5 separate regions of the Homo sapiens genome follow, and regions 2, 3, 4 and 5 are each linked to region 1. The links are contacts of gene promoters, found by promoter capture Hi-C in blood cells and fetal thymus (Javierre and others, 2016). All regions are on one chromosome and are shown on one strand. Each heading gives the region's core, a stretch centred on a gene start or on the middle of the fragment in contact. The rest is flanking DNA. Distances are from core to core; before and after follow the strand shown. Region 1 holds the start of SLC24A5 (solute carrier family 24 member 5). Region 2 has its middle 530 kb from the start of SEMA6D. Region 3 has its middle 510 kb from the start of SEMA6D. Region 4 has its middle 490 kb from the start of SEMA6D. Region 5 has its middle 270 kb from the start of SEMA6D.

Region 1 (2,620 bases), core at 72-2,571:
CCATCAGATAAAGCTAGTTTCTAAATAGAAAACTTACTAGGCATATCAATTTTTGTGTTTTTTCTGCAAAGCAAAGGAACCATGAAAGTTGCAAAACTACAAAAATTTTTATGAACAAAAACGCTTCTATTTCAATTGAAAGAAAGAAAGAGAAAGAAAAAGAAAGAAAGAAAGAAAGAAAGAAAGAAAGAAAGAAAGAAAAAGAAAAGAAAAGAAAGGAAGAAAGAAAGAAGGAACGAAGGAAAGGAAGGAAGGAGGGAAGGAAGGAAGGAGAGAAAGAGGAGGAGGAGAAGAAAGGAAGGAAGGAAGGAAGGAAGGAAGGGAGGAAGGAAGGAAAACAAACAAAACAAAGAAAAAGAAAGGAAGGAATGAAGACGTCAGCCAGAGGTCGTTCTGAGCAAATTATTTGCGTTCATTTTTGTAATTCTTACCACAACCCAAATACAGGTGATCCCTGTTTTACAGATAGCAGAACTGTGTAGCAGAAAGGTTAAATAACATGCCAAAAGTCACATAACTAGTAAGTAGCAGTGCTAGGGCTCAAATCATGTGGTCTGGTTCCATAGCCTGTGCTATTAGCTATAGGTTACTACACTGCCAAAAGTTCTAAATATCTTGGCAAGCCTCATAAATGTTAGCATAGGGAAGATAGTAGTCTATATTTAAACACTACCTTGTACGTCAAATTTGCATTTTAGATAGCTCCCTCTGGCAGAAAGCACAGCCTATCAATGATCAAATAGCATCCACTCCATCTCAATAATTCTTGAAACTGTCAGCTACTCTCCATCCCCGTTGCCACAGCCTTGGTTCAAGCCACTATCATTTCTCAGCTAGACGATTGCAATGATGCCCTAACTGGCCTTTCTCCCTTTGGCCCTAACTGAAGATGAAGATGAGAGGCTAAAACAGAAATATGAAAGGATGCCGAGCTAGCCAAAGCATGTACATATATTAATATCAACCCAAACAACTTCTAGGGGAAAGGGCTGGAGAGAGATGGGAAGCAGTTGCAAACCCAACTTTTTACAAATCTAGAGAAAGTCAAAAGCAGAGCCAGTATGAAGACATTAAATAAAACCACACATTTTCATAAAGTACAAGCTGCCTTAATCTGCCCTTAGAGACTGTAGGCCATGGAAATAGCTATAGACAATGGTTGTCAGCTCTCCTCCGTCTCCTCCGGCCTCCCTGGAGATTGGGTCTCCTGATCAGAGAAGCTTGACTGGCTACACTCGCCCTTTCTCCTGTGCTGGCCTTGCTGAGATGTGCCCTGGGCAGGGTATTGGGCAGGAAGGAGACTCCTCACATGATCCAGTTTAATCCTCCTCTTCTCCCTTCCTGAAGCTGCACGCTGCAGTAAGAGCACAGCAGAAATGCAGACAAAAGGGGGCCAAACATGGGCGAGAAGGGCTCTGTTGCTCGGCATCCTGTGGGCCACTGCACATCTGCCTCTCTCAGGGACCTCCCTGCCCCAACGTCTCCCAAGGGCCACAGGTAGGTGGACATTGGGGTCAGTTAGCTCTGCAGCAGCAGCTGCTGCTGCTGCTACCACATACAGATGAAGGGACAAAAAGAGGAAAATTCTCAATGGGCTCACTTTTACTTACGCTTCTGAATTTTAGCATTTAAAAAGATATCAAACACTTTTGATCCTTCAAATAAGTTCTTAAATATACTCCAAAGTAATTCACAGAGATCATAGTAGGCCAAGTCTCCAGTTTTTGTTCTTGGAGACTTTTTGGTGAAAACAAAAAATCTTTCATCTTAGAAATTCTCTCTGCAACAGTGGATGGATTCTTTGCAGGCCTGTGAACAATTTAGGCTCTGCAATGAGAAAACGAAATTGTATAAACAATAGAAATCTTCATGTATCAGAGATACAGTTTCTACTTGGGGAAGAGAGATTCAGAAATAAAAACAAGGAGGAGTGATTTCATGATTTCCTCTTTTTAATTCTTCACCATCATCAACATATTTCATTAAGATATCTCTTTTCAGTCCCCCAAAAAAATTTTTTGAAAACTCTACAACTGTGTTATATTCAGAAGCGCTTTATACATTTTCAGTGGGTCCTTAAAATTCCACCCGGTTACCCCACACTTACAGATTTCTTAAGGAAGCTCTCTGTGGGCTTGGAATGTGTGACTCCAAACTCTTCAAACTTTCACCTCCTTTTCCTTAACAGGAAATAGCACCCAATGTGTTATTTCTCCATCATCGGAGTTTCCCGAAGGGTTTTTCACGAGACAGGAGCGCAGAGATGGAGGCATCATAATCTATTTCCTAATTATCGTTTACATGTTCATGGCCATATCTATTGTCTGTGATGAATACTTCCTACCCTCCCTGGAAATCATCAGTGAATGTAAGTGGCTGGAAAGTTGCCCTGTAACCTTCTGGGAGAGTGTGCCACACAGATATGACTGTCTTTGAAATAGCTCAGCAGCTGTCCTGTACTTCTCAACTGGTTGCAGAGCACCAGCTTCTTGTTGTGGGGTCCCGTGTCTTAAGGAACTGGTCGAGTGTGGTTTCTCTTGGTAGTTAATGTGAATCAGAGTTTCTTCAAGTTAGAACCCGGCAGTTATTATTTTTCTGCCTATTTCCAGAAATCTCTAGT
Region 2 (2,620 bases), core at 60-2,559, 930 kb before region 1:
TGGGTCTGACTCTTTTGTTATTTTTCTCCTATGTCATAAATTTATGTGCAAATATCTTCAGCATTGTCTGGTTAGAGAACTTACTGTTGAAAACGTGGGAATTAGTGGGGGGAGGGGTGAAGAGAGAAGAACAACTTTTATTAAACCTGGAGTCAGGACTTAAGACAGGAAAAGAAGGGCAAGTTTCATTTAATAAAATTCACTGAGGAATTTGTCTTTGACCTTTAAAAGTCCGAGCTGTGTAGTACATAATATACATTTGGGTAAATCAGGCACTAACTTCATAAAGCATAAGGCAAAATAAGAGAGTTTCATGGTGTCTTTGCTTTGCTACATTTGAATGGTGGCTTTAATTCCACTCACTTTTTTATTTTTGGGGGATGCTGTTCTATTTATGTAAAAATGGATATCGTCAATGTTTATTTTGGGAACATTTTATTTTAAAAGCTTAGTTTCTTCTATGAGTTTAGCTCTTATTAAATGTTTACTAAGAAAGATGATGTTTGATTCAGTTTTCATAACTAAATGCAACTAGAAACACATTGATTAAGTGATTCAAATAAGCCCATTTAAATACTAAATTTAGTCTTCTCTTTCACAAGCTATTGTGAAGAAAATGCTTTGAATTAGATTTTTATTTTAATAACCAATATTCATTTATATTTCCTGTAACGTGAAGACTAACATTAATGGGTAATAAAAATGAAACATTTGTGAAATGAGGAGATATAAGACAATGCAAATTAATGATTGTGTGTACTCTTGATACCTAGCTTTTTTTCTGATAAATTAGTATTTTTAATCTCAGGGGTAATGTAGATTTCTTAACTGATTACATTTTCTTTTTGCTTTAGGCACAAGAAAGCTCAGAGCCCATGGGAGATTTAATTTATTATCATATAAGACTCCTTGGAATGAATATATGTGTTATCTTTCCAAATGACCTTACTTTATTCTACTTATGTATACAATTTCTCTGTCATAATGTCTTATTTTGTTTTTCTTTTTCAATTGTGGAAGAAGGCAGATCATCAAAGTTGTTATGAATAAGTGTTTAGAAGTACAATCAAGCCTGCAAGTAGTTATTAAGGTCTAATATTGCAAATGCTGAGGTGACATGAGACAAAGGAGGCAAGATTTCTGATCTAAAGATACTTGTATTCTGGCTGGGTGGAGAAGCCATAAACTCCTAAGGAATTAGCTCAAAGTAAGTCAACATGTGCATACATCTGTTGCACCAAAATGAAAGCCCAACCCTGACTTTAATGACATTCAGTTTCTAGAAAAACACTATTATAGCACCAATCAGAAAAGCCAAGTAACTAAATCTTTTAATTTTCTGGGCACACTAAGACTTAAGTAGTCTGAGGATATCAGGGTGGAAATAAATGTAGAAAAAGTTATTGTGATTCCATGGTAGTGGAAACTCCCATACACTTCTCTTTCCCTTTCTCTTTCTCTTTTCCTCTCTTCTCTTTCTTGATTCCTCTGTCTCTCTATCATTGGCTTTCCCCTTGCTACCCTGGCAGACCTGATTGACAGGTGTGACAATTCCCATGGCAAGCTAATCCCACCAGGCTGGCAGCTTTTGAAATTTCTATGTAAATACAGTATTTGTTCTAAGTACCACACTTAAATACAGTAGTTAACGTTTAAGCACCCACAGGTTGTTTCTCTTTGTACTTGAATCAACAACCATTTTCAGCTCTTAGAAGGGACCACCCACAAAACTGTACTTTTTGACTGTAGAAAAACTCAGGGAGAAACAAATAAAATGAAGCAAAAAGTTGAGAGAAAAAAAACCCCAAAAACCACAAAACTAAATTATCGCTAAATTATCGACCCAAGGAGGCATGGTTAGGCTAAGGCCAAAAACTCTGAATTAAACTTCCAAATCTAACCAGCTACCTCTAGATGTAAACCTGATTTTCATCTTTTCTATCACCCACATAGACATGACTTTTTTTTCCAGACATCTTGATTACAGTTAATGTTAAAATAGCTTCAAGTCTAAAATGCAGATGTGTTGTCTTGAACTGAAACGAACTATCAAACAGACAATGATAAATAATGATCATTTAAACTTGGCCTTTTAAAAAGCACATTGGATACAATAAAAATCAGTGTATTAGTACACTAAATGTGCTTCCAATTATGATATAAATAGTGCATAAAGCTTTAAAATTTTCATCAAATTAATGTATCACTGACATGCAAATTAACTACTGACATCTATGGTGTATGCCATGTGATGATTTCTAATTGGCAAGTGAACCTCAGAGGATTATTTATAGATTACACTGCAACAAAGTGCTGGAGTAAATTCGCATTGTGCAGCTCAATTCAAATTGGTGTTTGAGCTTTGATTCTCTTCACTTTTTCACACCCCTTTTGATCTCCAAAGGCTCTCAGAAATAAGCTAGCTAAGGTGCTAAATATCTAATTAATAACATTTGGGCAGAGAATTTGTCTTCAAATGACCCCTAAGAGATTTGGAGACCAGTTAATATCCCTCACTAGCTTGTTCAGGTATGAATAACTCTTGAGGCTGTTGAGTTTGAACTCCAAGATTTGGTAACATCCATTTCCATCCAAAGCACGTAAGAGAAATGTTCACACA
Region 3 (2,620 bases), core at 40-2,539, 910 kb before region 1:
AAGGAAAACAGTAGCTTCCATCCTAGCCAGCAGTTACTATGTTGTGCACAATTACGCAGACATAATAAATGCATGGTTCTCGGGTGGTCATGTGTGCATGTTCTGATTGGCTGCATCTTCTCAAAATCAGGAATTCTGCTCCTCAGCTCTACAGTATGAATGTGTTCACTTAGCCAACGGCATTCCTATCTGTCACAACAGCATTCCTGCAGCCCTCTCCCCACCATCCACAGGCCGAAATCCTGGTCACAGCAAGCTGCTCCCACTGGGGTAGCTTCCAAAAACCAACAAAAGCAAATTAGTGTTCCTGGTTTGCTTCAGAAACAAACAGCAAAGAAGCCTCTCCAAAAATGCCTTAAAAAACAAATAAGAGAGAGAAAAAATAACTTCAAGGGAAAACCTACCACTACTCATGAAGGAGGCTCCAGGAGAAAACTTCAAAAAAGATAAATGGTTGCTGAGGACTGTTTGCCCATTAGCCTGTGGTGGGCAATTAGGCAGCAGTGGAAGAGAGAAGGAATGGCTCAATTCACTTGAGGGTCCTAGGGAGCCAGCCTTGAAAGAATTTTAAAAAGAATACAGTCACTTGATTTAATTAATATGATGAAATGAACATTGATTATATTTAATCTCTCCATTGACTTGCAGTTTTCCCATCATTTATACATGGCTTCCTCCTTTGCTCCATTTGTGCTTGACCTTCTTATTTCCTCCTCTGTGCCACTATGGTAAAGAAGCCCTCCTGCTATATCTCCCATTTACAATGCGGTGAGAGAATTTCTGGGTTTTAAAAAATCATGAGGGCAGTAGGCAATTGTCAGTCAGAAAACTCTTCTGAGTCTCTTTGGAAAACCATTATTTTATTACCCTTTTCCAATAATACTGACCTAGAAACCTAGACAGTAAATATTAACTGAGAACCTATTTATGAATCAGGCACAAGTCTAGCCATCATGGGAGGTCCAAGTCTAAGTAGTGCTTTGTCCTTGTGCTCAAGAATTTCATGGTTTGAGAAGAGGATGTGAAGATTTGCTGGTAAGGTTCCAATTTAGCAAATCTGCCTGGCTACCCTATTTGTCTTTCCTCCTCTTCTGGCTCCTTGCACCTAGGCCATATTTTTCATGAAAAAGGCAGTCCTCTAAGAGAAAAGGGCTCTAAATTGTGGCTCCCAAACATGGGTCCTTGGAGCAGTACCTCCAGAATAACCACTGTGCTTTCTGAAACTACTTCATCTAGTACGAGATCAGAGTACCCTGGGGAGAGGACTAAGATGTCCATTTTACAGATGCCTTCTAGGGAATTCTGGTACTTCACCAGGTTGGGAAATCAACATCAGAGGTACCAATAATGGACAGGAGGGAGTGACTGTGGAAACAGGTACAGTAGCCACTGGCGCGCGCGCACACACACACACACACACACACACACACACACACACACACACACACACACACACACTACTGTAACGGTTAAAGACTTTCAGCTGTGGAGTCAGATTACCCAGGTTTAAATCCTGTCTCTGCCACTTAGAGCTGTGAGATTTGGGGCTTGTTTTAAAACCAACTGGTCTTTAGTTTCCACATTTTTTTTAAATGAGAAAAATAATATGACCCACCTCATGGGATTATTATACTGATTAAATTAGTTAACGTATTAAAACCATTTAGAATGGTGCTAGAGATACAGAAAATACCGAATAAGTATTACCTATCTTTATTATCACTATAATAAGGAAGTTTATGCTTAGAGTCTTAGGAAAATACAGGTGAGATATATCTTCTCTATTTAGTCCTCTATATTAAATAAAGCATTAAAAACCTGCTGATACAAGAGACCTTCTAAATACTAGGTGATTTTTGAATCGTGTTTCAGAAGAGGCTTGTAGGCTGTTTTGTGTTTTCTGTGTTCAGCAGATGGTAGTAACTAGCCACTACCCTCATCATTACACTATACTGCTATACATTCTATTGCTTTCCATTTCTTCAATATAAAGATCTCAGGAACAATGAAAATTATAAAGCATAGAAGAACATTAAACAGTTTTTAAATCCCATTAATTGTCCATTTCTCATCATGGTCTTAAGTGAGCCCCAAAGTAATAATGTTCAATTATATTTGAGTCAATCAAAAATATTAATATTTCTTCTTATCATTGGGCAGAAGTTGGTATTCTCATTCCAGGACGGTTTCTGACTACCAGATTGGTCTTGGGCATGTCCTATAACATCTTTGGGCTTAGTATTTTCACTGATAAATAAGATTGGGTTGACCTCTTGGGATAACTAGAGTCCCTCATACTGCCTGTGGTTTCTTTCACTCTGCTGTTTGTCCAAATGTGAGTAACAATAAAGGAAGAATTTTCACTAATAAGAAGGAGTCCAGTTTCAGGATGTCAGCTGGACCACATGCATAGCTTGTAGATCTCTCCTTTTTACTCTTTGAGATATTCTTTGTTTTCTGCAATAGCTAGACCCAAGGCCATTCCATTATTTCTAATAGGTAGGATAATCTCATGTTTCAAAAGTATCAACTATATATAGTATAGTTCAATAAAATAATACATGGGGAATAAAATATTCAATAAAATATTAGTACATGGGGAAATATTTCCATGATAATA
Region 4 (2,620 bases), core at 36-2,535, 890 kb before region 1:
AAGTGATTGAGTCGTACCAGCAGCCTGGAACCATGCCTGTAGATCAGCTGCTTTACCAGGAAGAACATTGGTTTTGTATGAAGACAAATGTAGATTACTCCTGGCACTGGTACTTTTGACCTGGGGCAAGTTTACTGCTTATTTCTTTCCTTGGGTTAATCTATGAGGACTTAATAAACTATTGTCGGAAAATGGTTGCACAGATCAAATAAGATGTTAAATGATAGCTCTGTCCCAGAACCAATAAGCCTTGGTAAATGTTTGTTTATCTCTTTTATTTGTTAAATCTCAGTCAGTTCCTAGTTGAAGTCACTCATATGTAGAGAAAAAATAGCTGATGTTCACTGTTACATTGCAGGTAACTCAGATGTAGCTTCCTCCTTTTTAGTTTAGGGCTTTGACATATTTGAGTTTATCAGATGAATTAATTGTCACCCTGGAAGGCTGAGACCAGGATGCCCTACTGAATTGCAGACAAGTGGAGTTTTTTTAAGGGGACTTAGAAAAGAGAGTAAAATAAATATAGAAGAGAGGCAGGAGACTGGCTATAACAAATCTTGGCAGTCTGAGTTCACTTGGCCAGAGACTAGCCCTCTATGGAGTGCCAAAGTGGGTCCCTGTATGTAAGGATGAGGTTTCACCTAGTGACAAATAAATGACCATGAATAAATTATTCTCTCTGTATCCATCACAGCTCCTAGAAAATTGCCTTGCATATGGCAGCTCTCAGTGTTTAATGAGTGAATGATTTATTCAATTAATCACTGAATTTTAAATGGATGGGCCATGAGAGATCGTATAATCCCAAACTGTTACTTTACACCTAGGAAACTGAAGCTTACTTATTGTCTTACTGAGCGTATACTAAAGAGACTAGACTTTGGTCTACTGACTCCAACATGAGGCTCTATGCTACTGCTTTGGGGATACAGGATATACAGAACCTTCATTTCAAACTAGAATCAGATAAAGAGTTGACTTCTTCCAGCTGCTGCCTTTTTCTTTCTCCACAGATAAAAATTCCCAGGTGTCTTTCTCATGGCTCTAGGACTAAAGATCTATTTGTTTTCTAATTAAAAACACCCCAAGCATCAGATGCTATTTCTTTGTCTTAGTGGCTCAGAATATCTAGGTGCCCTGTGGTGTGCTATGCTTTTAGGTCTCTCCATGTGGTCTTAAAAAAATGGGGGATGCAGTTTATGGTCATGGATAATACATACTGAAATTTGACAAAGGTCAGTAATTGTGCCCCAAGATGCCTTGTGCTATACAGGTTGTGAGGGTGTGCTGGTGTGCAGATATTGGCTCAGTCTGTCACAGCTGATCTCCTTTATTTCCCATTTGTCTGCTGTCATTTGTCCAGACTCTATACTTTATATGCATACTGTTCACTTCTGCATACCTTTGGTACTAGCATTTGGCTAATCAAATTCTAAGATGTCTGCAGGACTAGCTGAAGTCATATTTGCTGGATGATGAAGCTCCCGTTCCTTGACAATTACAGTCATATTGGTCTCCTTCTCCACTGCATTCTTAAAACCTTTGAAGTCTGACCATCCTTTATTCTTTATTATGTGTGGGACTGAATATGTTCTATGCTTGTATCTTCTCTAGAAGACTGATAACATATTATATTTTCATTGAATGAATGTTTGGTCAAAGTCTGCTTTGGTTAGCGTTGCCAGATAAAATATAGAACACTTAGTTAAATTTGAATTTCAGATAAAGAATGAAAAGCTTTTTAGTATAAACCTGTTCCAAATAGTGCATGAAACTTTATTGTATTAAAATTCATTGTTTATTATCTGAAATTCAAATTTAACTGAAGTTTTATTTTTATTTGCTAATTTTGGCAACTCTCTTGGAAGTGTTTTTACTTCAGGCCTCTCTTAGAAAAATTCTTCTTTGTGGCAAAGAATATTTGAGGATTAAGCAATCTGCAAAACTTTTATCTTAACCTATAAAGCATAGGTCTGCCAGGATTTTTTGATTAATCTGCTCCAGTTTTTGCCTGTGTAATCCTCACACTCTCATTTAATAAAATTTATTGTAACATAAGTTTTATTTTTCTTATACAGAATATAATCTATGTAAAGTTGTATATCTTGAATATACAAATACTTTTCATGAATGCTAGATTTCCATGGTTACATATAAGAATAATTAGCATGTAGAATTCAAACAAGAAAGCACCACCAATAACTGACATATAAATGCATAAACATCACTATAGTGTCAGTTGTGTGAGAGTAACGATTTGCCTGTGTTTCCTTCTGTCTCCCATCTCCAGTACCTAACACAAGTGGTAGGTGCCCTATAAGTAGCTGGCTCTTACTCTGCCTTCTCTATCTCATCCATCCTTCTATAGACATTGGAGTCACAGGTCACCAGGATTTCTTCCTTTATACTCTGCTTTCTAAGTCAGTGGTTCTCAAAGTGTCATCAGTCCCTTGGCCAGCAACTGTCGGCCACACCTGAGAACTTGTAATAAATGCACATTCTTAGGCCCCATTCCTGAGAAAGGGATGAGAAACTGCCTGAGAAACACTAGGGGTGAGGCCAACAATCTAGGTTTTAACAAGCACTGCAGGTGGTTCTGATGCACTCTTAAAGAACCACT
Region 5 (2,620 bases), core at 65-2,564, 670 kb before region 1:
CAGTGATGCAGAGGCTTTCCTGATTCCTTTTGCAGGGTATGAGATATATCTACCTGGTTTGTCCAGTGAAAGAAGGTGCAGAAAACACACAGGTTATGGCAAGGATTTTACCTGAACACCAAGTACACCCTTGGGATTCTGGGAGTGGGTTTCAGGAGCCCTGTGAACCCAAAATCGAATGCAAAATGGTTGATGTGCATACTACTGGGCGATCAAAAGCTTCCTCAAAGAGGCCTGTGACCCCCAGAAGTCTAAGAACTACTTGAGTAGAATCTTGGTGAGGATGCATGGACATGGAGGATGGTGGTTGGAGCTACCAGTGTGATCCAGATCAATCACAGCTTCCCAATACTACAGAGCCCTACTGGTACCATTTTTATCCTAGAGATAAATATAAGTGCTGGATGGGCCTAAGGTTGGTGACTGGATGAGGAGTGAGAAATCAGAAAATGACTTTGGGGAAGGAATAGAAAGGTTACATAGGAGAGCAGGTGGCTGTCCCTTTCCCCACAAACCCAAATCATTTTTCCCTCCTGGTCTGAAAATTTTATTTAGGTTTATAACCTGGAATTCTAACAACTGGGGAATTCATATGATTTAAGTCCTCCCTTTGTTCTCACTGTTTCCTTTACCCTCTTTGCACTTTCTCAATTATTAAATAAACCCTGCTGGATCAGTGGTCGTGTGAGGCCAAGAGTGGGAGAAGAGATTGACTGAGGAAAAGCTGGGGGGAATATTTGCAGGCAATGGACATGCTGTTGGTCTTGATTTTAGTGGACATTGAATGGTACATTAAAAATGGATACATTCTATTGTATGTAAATTATACCTCAATATAGTTGATTTAAGACAAAAACCAAACATTGAATTGCTGTTCACTCCAGTTCCCACCTGATCGCGTCTTTTTGTGAAGGCCATTGGTACTTAGTGTTGGTATCTTGTGTTGTTCATACGTAGACCTCAGTTACTACTTCTTTTCCTGGATAACTCCCCTACTAACCTCTTAGTCCCTTAAAGCCTAGACCAGAACTTAATTTTCGTCACTCTTCTTTGAGTTCTTCATAGCAGCAAGCACTAAATTAAAACAAAACAAAACTCACTAATGATAATAACGATGAGGCAAATCAATAATTTTGTTCAAGGAGCTCTTCAGTGTCCATTCAGTCTTATAGAAACCTATCATCACTACTTTTTCAGGAATTGAGTTAAGGGTGTGTTTATCAACCAAAAAAAAAAAAAAACTGGACTCAAAGTCACACGACTTGTGTTCAAGTTGCAGCTTTGACACTTAGCATCTGTGTAATCTGGGCAAGTTACTTTATGTTTCTAAGCTCCAGTTTATATCTTTACATAGAAGAATAAATATTTATTTTATCTACCTATGGTGATGTCTTCAAAAATTATAAGACCACATGCAATTAGTGGTTTTTGTAGTGTGTACATAGCATAATAAAACCTTTCTTTTATCATAAAAAATACTGACATTTTTAAGGAAAAAAATCTTGAATTTTAATGGGATGTTTTTGGGTTTGTTTTATTTTTTAAATAATATTTTCTGAAACTTCTGGAATATTTTTATTACATGATTATGTGATTGAGTATGAAAAACCATTTTAAATTACCATAGCAAATTGTTTGACCTACTTCTTCTCTTTGGCACATTTTGGAGATCTTTACTTTGTTTCATTCTCATTAATAGGAATTTCAATTTGGTCTTCTTAATAACAGATATTTCAATTTCTGTTCAGTAATTTATTATGGTATCATGTCAAATAATAGTATTTATTGAATAACAGCATGAACATTTTTTATTTTTAAATGAATGTATTTACAGTTGAAATTATCCCCATGAGTTTTTTATTTGTTTGTTTGTTTTAGTTGATTGTTTTATGATTGCATTACCTTCTCATTTGTAGTTCATTTAAAAAGAAAAAGTAAAGCTCATACCACAGCAGATAAATCTCCAGAATCACTATCACTTCCTGTTTCAAAATTGAAATGATTTTTAAAAACAAATCTGTGCTTTCTCAACTTTGTTCAGAATCTAAAATAGTGTCAATGTTTGCCAAGCTAGAAAGTAAAATATTAGGATAAAATTTAATTTCCAAGTTCCCAAAAGGTCATGGAGAGGCAAATGAGAAAGATAAATTTAATTAATTTATTTTAAATAAAAATGACTTAAGTGCCCTTTCGAAAAAAAAAACACCCTTTCAACAAATGTGTTTTAAACAAAAGTGACAATTTCTATCGCTTAAAGAACAGATATGAAAAAAGTAAATCAACAATGCTAAACCTCACATAGAAATCCATCCACAGTGAATCTGTAGAGGTTATGACAACAGCTATTAAAATGATAGCTATTACATTTTACAAATCAGCTATTAAAATATCTGAGTTCATTATGTGCACAAAAGCTTTACATCCCACTGAGAAGAAAGAGCTGGGAATGTTACTTAGGGTCTATCTGTATTTCGAGGTCAGGGAAGAGTCCAAATTTATGTAGTAACAGCACGTCTGCAAGTTTTCAGTTTGCTTCCATGAACTAAAACCAATAGCCCCACTCCACAAAGAGGCAGAATCAAATGTCACTGGTTTGATCTACTTCAAAACAGGAGCCACT

The links. The method cuts DNA at HindIII sites, captures the fragments that hold promoters and counts their contacts. A CHiCAGO score of 5 or more calls a contact.
Region 2: a contact is called between a fragment that was not itself captured here and the fragment with the promoter of SLC24A5 in region 1, in 3 of 17 cell types (M2 macrophages, M0 macrophages and endothelial precursors). The highest score is 8.3, in M2 macrophages.
Region 3: a contact is called between a fragment that was not itself captured here and the fragment with the promoter of SLC24A5 in region 1, in 1 of 17 cell types (M2 macrophages). The highest score is 5.8, in M2 macrophages.
Region 4: a fragment that was not itself captured here is called in contact with the fragment with the promoter of SLC24A5 in region 1 in 2 of 17 cell types (M0 macrophages and M2 macrophages); the score reaches 5.6 in M0 macrophages.
Region 5: a contact is called between a fragment that was not itself captured here and the fragment with the promoter of SLC24A5 in region 1, in 1 of 17 cell types (M2 macrophages). The highest score is 5.3, in M2 macrophages.

What each region holds. Positions count from the first base shown.
Region 1 is chr15:48,119,669-48,122,288 of GRCh38, forward strand. SLC24A5 (solute carrier family 24 member 5) reads left to right here and starts at 1,322. Exons shown (of 9, transcript NM_205850.3): 1 at 1,322-1,497; 2 at 2,189-2,368. The coding sequence starts at 1,377. The HindIII fragment of the contact is 6,566 bases long and covers 1,219-2,620 here.
Region 2 is chr15:47,187,708-47,190,327 of GRCh38, forward strand. It overlaps a transcript of SEMA6D not described here. Among named protein-coding and RNA genes, the nearest start is that of SEMA6D, 530 kb to the right of the region's middle. The HindIII fragment of the contact is 1,729 bases long and covers 446-2,174 here.
Region 3 is chr15:47,206,593-47,209,212 of GRCh38, forward strand. It overlaps a transcript of SEMA6D not described here. Among named protein-coding and RNA genes, the nearest start is that of SEMA6D, 510 kb to the right of the region's middle. The HindIII fragment of the contact is 8,594 bases long and covers 1-2,620 here.
Region 4 is chr15:47,228,214-47,230,833 of GRCh38, forward strand. It overlaps a transcript of SEMA6D not described here. Among named protein-coding and RNA genes, the nearest start is that of SEMA6D, 490 kb to the right of the region's middle. The HindIII fragment of the contact is 900 bases long and covers 836-1,735 here.
Region 5 is chr15:47,451,095-47,453,714 of GRCh38, forward strand. It overlaps a transcript of SEMA6D not described here. Among named protein-coding and RNA genes, the nearest start is that of SEMA6D, 270 kb to the right of the region's middle. The HindIII fragment of the contact is 2,195 bases long and covers 218-2,412 here.